Regions from separate parts of the Homo sapiens genome. Here region 1 is linked to region 2. Evidence: promoter capture Hi-C in 16 types of primary human blood cells and fetal thymus (Javierre and others, 2016). All regions are on one chromosome and are shown on one strand. Each heading gives the region's core, a stretch centred on a gene start or on the middle of the fragment in contact. The rest is flanking DNA. Distances are from core to core; before and after follow the strand shown.

What was found. The method cuts DNA at HindIII sites, captures the fragments that hold promoters and counts their contacts. A CHiCAGO score of 5 or more calls a contact.
Region 1: a fragment that was not itself captured here is called in contact with the fragment with the promoter of PRELID3A in region 2 in 4 of 17 cell types (endothelial precursors, non-activated CD4 T cells, total B cells and 1 more); the score reaches 6.6 in endothelial precursors.

What each region holds. Positions count from the first base shown.
Region 1 is chr18:12,897,249-12,901,084 of GRCh38, forward strand. No RefSeq gene overlaps it. Among named protein-coding and RNA genes, the nearest start is that of PTPN2, 15 kb to the left of the region's middle. The HindIII fragment of the contact is 220 bases long and covers 1,916-2,135 here.
Region 2 is chr18:12,406,536-12,410,232 of GRCh38, forward strand. It overlaps PRELID3A (PRELI domain containing 3A), which reads left to right and starts at 1,394. Exons shown (of 7, transcript NM_001142405.2): 1 at 1,394-1,472. The coding sequence starts at 1,441. RefSeq lists enhancers at 793-1,454, 1,455-2,114, 1,972-2,221 and a silencer at 1,192-1,771. The HindIII fragment of the contact is 9,540 bases long and covers 1-3,304 here.

The sequences.
Region 1 (3,836 bases), core at 776-3,275, 490 kb after region 2:
CTGTTGCCCAGGCTGGAGGGCAATGGTGTGATCATGGCTCACTGCAGCCTTGACCTCCCGGGCTCAAGTGATCCTCCCACCTCAGCCTCCTGAGTTGCTGGGACTAGGTGCATGCCAACATGTCCAGCTAATTAAAAAAAAGTTTTTTTGTAGAGATAAGGTCTCACTATATTGCCCAGGCTGGTCTTGAACTCCTGAACTCAAGGGATCTTCCTGCCTCAGCCTCCCAAAGTGCTGGGATTATAAATGTGAGCCACTGCACCGAGCCTCCAGGTGGCCGATTCTCGGATGCATTTCTCATGGCTCCTTAGAAAGTCCCAGTGGGGGCCGGGCGTGGTGACTCATGCCTGTAATCCCAGCACTTTGGGAGGTCAAGGCGGGTGGATCACCTAAGATCAGGACTTTGAGGCCAGCTTGACCAACATGGTGAAACCCCATCTCTACTAAAAATACAAAAATTAGCTGGGTGTGGTGTCAGGCACCTGTAATCCCAGCTACTTAGGAGGCTGAGGCAGAAGAATCTCTTGAACCCAGGAGGCGAAGGTTGCAGTGAGCCAAGATCGTGCCATTGCACTCCAGCCTGGGTGACAGAGTGAGTCTCTGTCTTAAAAAGAAAAAGAGAGAGAGAGACAGACAGACAGAGAGAGAGAGAGAGAGACAGAGAGAGAGAGAGAGAGAGAGAGAAAGAAAGAGAGAAAGAAAGAAAGAAAAGAAAGAAAGAAAGAAAGAAAGGAAGAAAGAAAAAGTAAGTCAGTCTCAGTGTGAACAAGCGTCATTTGTGTCTGGTGATGGACGTGACAAGGCTTTCTTATGTTTGCTTTTCCTCCTCACCTGTTCATCCTCCTTCCCTGCACTGCTGCTCTCTAGAAGCGCTTTCCCAAATAAAGTCCTTGCAACAAGCCTTGGTCTCAGGGTCTGCTTTCAGGGAACTCAGGCTAAGGTAATTAGTCACAGACATGGGCCTAGGAAGCAGATTCTCAGGATGGGATTTTGGAGCTGGAAAACACAGAGCTAAGAAACACGAGGCTGGAGTGAGTGGCATCTGGTAACATCACGATTGCTAAGGATCTCACCCTGGTGGCTTGGGATGAGGTGCAGGTGGAAGGTAAAGCACTGGGCATGTGGCAGCTCTGACACCTAAGTGGTATTGGGGCGAGGGGAACTATAACGATTTTGGAGGTTCCTGGTCTTTGTTAAATGCTCTGGACGTCTTGAAAAAAAAGTCAAACAGGTTTCCACCTGCAACTGTCAGCTTGAGGCAGGTTGTGGAAGCAAAGCGGCTCCATAACTGCATTCATGGAGACGCTCATTTTATTCGTAGAATGTGTGGATGAAAATCAGGCACAGCACTGTGTTATTAGGAAAACAGAGATGCAAAGGAGCATGAATGCATAGCCATAAATGGTCTCGTCCTCAAATCATTGACTTGAGAAATACCTGGGTGGACTTGGACCAGCCTGAGAACCTTGCAACCCCAGGTTTTTTTGGCTCCCCCAGGCCAGCAGATGTGCGCCCCCATTCTTACTAGATTCACAGAAGCCCTCACATGAGAAAGTGTCTCAAAGGGCAAGGAAACTCAGTTTTAGCCACTAACTCCCCAAAAGCAACCCCTGCCACCACTTGTTACCTCCATACTAAGAAGCAGGGTCTGATCCCAACACAGCTTAGGTAAACAGTCCAAACTCCAGGCAGAAATCTTATATATCCTAAGAATTGTAAGACCTGTCTAATGTGGACCAACAGGAAGGAGAGGAAAATGGGCAATTATAAAGCTTAAGATGTTGGGCCAAGGAAGATGCAAATATAAGGATGGGTAGAGAAGGATTTATTGATATAGGAATATACCCCTTGGTTTGGGAGTCCTAGTCAGGGCATCTGAATCCACTTCTCATCCACTGCTCGGATAGTTTCCTGAAGCTTGGGCAGGAAGATGACCTACAATGAATGAGGTGAGGATGCTTTAATTTCCTTGGCAGAATACTAGACGAGCTCAGGGAAATTAGACATTAGAATAGGCTTAGTATGTGGTATCAGAGAACCCACTTCCCGGCTGTGTTCTTTGGGAAGACTCAGAGGAGACTCCCTTCATAAAGCACAAAGACCCACTGGTGAGGGAGGCATGACCATCTTTGAGAAGCTTGGTAGGAATTGTCCTTTGTAGGCCAGAGCCGGCCAGTGGAAGATCCTGCCAATGGATGCCAGGTATCAATGGGCATGACGGGATTCTGAAATCGCAGAGAGGAGGCAGCAGCAGAAGGGGAATGAAGTTAGTATCATGGGCAGCAAGGCCAGCATGGCAGTTACGCTGCTGTGACCTGCTAGGATCTGTGGGCTCTGTTCCAGGGGCTGAGACGGGTGAACAACAATTAGGTTGTGACTTGACTTGGACAATTTGAAAAAAAAAAAAAAGAAGTGCTGGGAAGCTGAAGTTTGAAATTAGCCACTGCAATGGAAAATCACAATCCTTCATTCAATTTCCAAAGCTAAGTCAGTTCACAGATCTAATGCACATTGATTGAAGGGAAGCCTGCCAGTTCTCTGTAATGAAAGACTCTGCACCACCACTAAAAATACAGATGATAACTATTACCCTAGTCCTTCACCAATGGAACCTACAGCCACCTAGCAGCCCAATGGTGCCAAGGAAATGGATAGAAAATCTGAGTTGAAACTTCAGATACCACGGGACCTGAAATCCTGTTATGTTCCTCCAGTTACACTCAGAGCTTTTGAAGGGCAGATGATACATGGAGTTCTGACCCAAGTATACCCTGCAGTGGGTCCACTGGGTCCAGGAACATGGCCTGTGGTTATTTTCTCAGCTCCCACATGTATAATTAGGATAGATATATACCTAGTAGTTGGCAGAAACCTTACAATGATTTCTAGACATCTAGACATAGGGGGGAAGACACAGGAGAGAAGTCCCTGAAAAATCAGAAGCAATACTAGAAGGAATTGCAGAGAGTAGCACCACCATAAGCAACTTCAAGGATGGAGGGTGGCAGTCCCCTTCAATTTACCCAAGTGGCCCTTACAAAAATTACACAGATCATGGCAGATAAGGGTGGACTACTGTAAACCTAACTAAATGGAGCCCTGCTGGGCGCGGTGGCTCACACCTGTAATCCCAGCACTTTGGGAGGTTGAGGCGGGCGGATCACCTGAGGTCAGGAGTTCGAGACCAGCCTGGCCATCATGGTGAAACCCCGTCTCTACTAAAAATACAAAAATTAGCCAGCTGTGGTGGTGCACGCCTGTAGTCCCAGCTACTCAGAAGGCTGAGGCAGGAGAATTGCTTGAACCTGGGAGACAGAGGTTGCAGTGAGCAGAGATCGTGCCACTGCACTCCAGCCTGGGTGACAGATCGAGACTCTGTCTCAAAAATAAACAAATAAATGAATAAATAGGCTTGGCGCGGTAACTCATACCTGTAATTCTAGCACTTTGGGAGGCCGAGGTGGGTGCATCACGAGGTCAGGAGTTTGAGACCAGCCTGGCCAACATAGTGAAACCCTGGCTCTACTAAAAATACAAAAATTAGCCAGGCATGGTGGCGCACACCTGTAGTCCCAGCTATGCAGGAGGCTGAGGCAGGAGAATTGCTTGAACCCGGGAGGTGGAGGTTGCGGTGAGCCAGAATCAGGCCACTGCGATCCAGCCTGGGCAACAGAGCGAGACTCCATCTCAAAAAATAAAAATAAAAATAATAATAATAATAAATAAATAGAGCCCCAATCATAGGTTGTATGGACTGTAGCATGGACTACACAATGTGGTATATGGTATGAACAATCAACACAGTTTCCAAAGCTTGTTATGTGGCTACTGAACCA
Region 2 (3,697 bases), core at 144-2,643:
CACGGACGCCCCAGGGGCGCCAGGCGCTGCTCTAGGCTGAGACTCAGCCGACTCAGACAAGGGCCCTGCCCTCTCGCCCTATCTCATCCTGGAGAAGAGTACCCTCTTCTTAGAACAAGCATCTCACTTCCGTGCACTTCAACTTCGTTTGTGGCAGTGCAGGGTACTTTGCAAAGCTAAAAAGTAGTTTATGCGAAAGGGAGACTCTTTTTCCTTAGAGGATTTGCCAAGTTGTAATCACAAATTCTTTTTGAGATACACGTACATTTTTTTAAAGCTAAATAAGATTTCCCCCCAGTTTTATAACTCAAGAATGTATTTTCTCAAGGACTTGGGAGTCATCTCTTTGAAATGTCATCCCCGTCTCCCAGTTTTGTGGGAGGGTAGGAGCCCAGCTACCAGAGAGCACCTGGCTTCAAATTGTAAACCTACCTCCTGTCATAAAGGTATGAAAATTCATTTTTCCTTTGGATAAAGGCAATTAGCAAACGCAAATGGCCACTGCATTTACCAATGGCCACTCCATCATCAGGCGAATTTAGGATGAACTCTGCGACAAATGGTGTAGTGGAGTCCCCTCCCCGGAGGGCTGTCTCGTTTACCTCGGGAGCATGCGTGGGGTAGGTTGCATCCTCCCGGCTGTTTGATACAGGCTGAGATTTCTGTCTTTGCAGCCTATTTGGCGGATTGCTTGTGATGCACATCACATGCTGGTTTTGTTTTGTTTTGTTTTGTTTTGTTTTGTTTTGTTTGAGACGGAGTCTCGCTCTGTTGCCCAGGCTGGAGTGCAGTGGCGGGATCTCGGCTCACTGCAAGCTCCGCCTCCCGGGTTCACGCCATTCTCCTGCCTCAGCCTCCCGAGCAGCTGGTACTACAGGCGCCCGCCACCACGCCCGGCTAATTTTTTGTATTTTTAGTAGAGACGGGGTTTCACCGTGTTAGCCAGGATGGTCTTGATCTCCTGACCTCGTGATCCGCCCGCCTCGGCCTCCCAAAGTGCTGGGATTACAGGCGTGAGCCACCGCGCCCGGCCTCACATGCTGGTTTAATGTTTGTTCAAGACCCAAACTGCAGTGGAGTTTTGAGGGTTGGCAGGTTTGTTTTTCATCACACGTCCCCGACAGTACAAACCGGCGTAGCTGGACAGGGCCTTGGGAGAATTTGGACAGTGGGAGTAAGGACGAGCGTCGCCTCCTACGCCCGCGGCATCTGCAGCAAGCGCGCATCGCGCACCCCAGGGTAGCAGCGCAGGTCTGGGGCTGCGCCACAGCCGCGCCCGCAGAGCTATTTTTAGCCGCTGCAGCCAGCCTAGCCACCAGACGGGGTGGGCGGCATCCAAGGGCGCCCCGCCCATCGAGGCCCCGCCCACGCCGCGCCCGGAGCCGCGCGGCCCGAAGCACCCGGCCCGGATCGCAGAGCCCGCGCCCTGCGCCGGCGGCAATGAAGATCTGGAGCTCGGAGCACGTGTTTGGGTGAGGCCGGGCTGAGGGCCGCGGTGGGGCCGTCCAGACGCCGGCTCCTGCTCCCGAGCCCGGCTGGAGCGGTCCAGGAAAGGCCGGACCTCACAGCGGGCCTCGCGGAGATCCCCGCCCCGCGCCGGCCGTTCCCAGACCGCAACTTCGGCGTCCCGGAGAGGGCACGCGCGCTTCCCCGGGACCGCGGTCTGGGCGAGGCTCTGCGCCGGGTACGGCCTCTCCCCCGGCGTGCGCAGGGGCCTGGCTGCAGGCACAGAGGCCCCGCTGGTGGTCGACAGCCAGGGCGGGGGCAGCCGGAGCGGGGGCGGCCGGGGCGGGGGCGGCCGGAGCCGGGGGGGCGGCCGGGGGCCTGGCGCTCGCTGCTCTCCTTGGGGTCGGGAGCAGGGCAGGGGAGAGGCCTGCAAGCTGGCGCCTTTGCTGAGATTGTCATAAACCTTCCGCGCGTTTCACGGAGGGCCCACGGCGGGCTGTGAGCTCTGGAGGAAGCTAAAGGGGCAGAAGGCATTTCGGGGGCCCTGGCTCTGAACTCACTTGTAGGCATGGAAGGCCTCCAAGCTAGCGTGGAAAACCTCGAACTGTTTAAAAATGCTCCCCCGGCACACGGATGGAAGTGGAGGTCATTATCTTAAGTGAAGCCAGGCCCAGAAAGACAAGTATCGCATGTTCCCACTCCTAAGTGGGTGCTTAAGAATGTGTTCACATGGATGTGGAGAGTGGAACGTCAGATGATGGAGACTCTGAAGGGTGAGGGGGTGGGTGCAGGGAGGATAATGAGAATTGCTTAATGGGTGCAAGACACCTTCCCGGGTAATGCATACCCTAGAAGTCCTGACTTGACCACTACGAAATTTATGCATGTAACGAAATTGCACATATACTCCATAGAATTGTGCAAATAAAAAGAAGAAAAAAGTGCCCTCCTAACCTAAGTGGTATCTTTTCCTTAAGTCAGTGATCTGTGACACACTGAAATTATTCTTTAATGTTTATTTACAGCAACAAAGATTTTTTAATTATCTGACCTCACTTAAGCATTAAATATTTTATTTTGGGGGGAAAAAAAGTACTGCGTGGAAGGAAATTGTCATCCTTTGACTCTTTTTATTTATTTTTTTCGAGACAGAGTCTCATTCTGTCACCCAGGCTGGGTTTTTTTTTTTTTTTTTTTTTTTTTGAGACATAGGCTCGCTGGGTCACCCAGGTTGGAGTGCAATGGCGCGATCTTGGCTCACTGTAACCTCCCCCTCCTGGGTTCAAGTGATTCTCGTGCCTCAGCCTCCTGAGTAGCTGGGACTACAGGTGTGGGCCATCACGCCCGGCTAATTTTTGTATTTTTAGTAGAAACAGGGTTTCGCCATGTTGGCCAGGCTGGTCTCGAGCTCCTGACCTCAGGTGATCCACCCGCCTCGGCCTCCCAAAGTGCTGGGATTATAGGTGTGAGCCACCGTGACTGGCCTGACTTTAAACATGTAAAATTATAATAAAAATATATCAAGTGGTTTCAAAACCTCTGAAATTATTTTTCATGAAGTCTTTAGACTTGATGGGATCTAATTTTTTGTATGGCTTGCAGTGTTTCTCAAGTGGGTTTCCATCAGCAACAAGGATGGGGGCATCACTGAGCCGTCTGGATGCTGTGGACAGTTAAGTCATTGCATACCAGGAGTGCCAGGTGGTTGGGGCTCAGTTTTCTCATGGAATGGCCGAGGTCTGCCCTAGAGGTTTGTGAAATGTCTGTGGACAAGCACAAATGAATAGCTAGCTGTGAAAAATCACAGTTGATGCTTTTGAAAATTGTTGCAGCTGCTAACTCCCATTTATTTTTTTTAAGCTTTACCGAAGGATACTTTACATACCATAAAATTATACACATTTTAAGTGTATAATTCATTAAGTTTTGCTAAGTATGACCATCACACACACAGTCCAGTCTTAGAACACTTCTGTCCTCCTGCAGAGGTGCCCCATGCTCATTAGCTTCACATTTTACCCCATTTTCACCCCTGCCCCAGGCAACCAGGAATCTTTTCTGTTTCTATGAATTTGCCTTGTTGGGACATTGCATGTAAATGTCATCCTGCAATATGGGGTGTTTTGTGTCTGTCTGCTTTCACTTAGCATGATTTTCTTGAGGCTCACCATGTGGTAGAGTGTCAGTATTTCATTTCTCCCATCATTCATTTTGTATTCCTGGCACCCCGCCGGGGCCCGGCGCCTAGCAG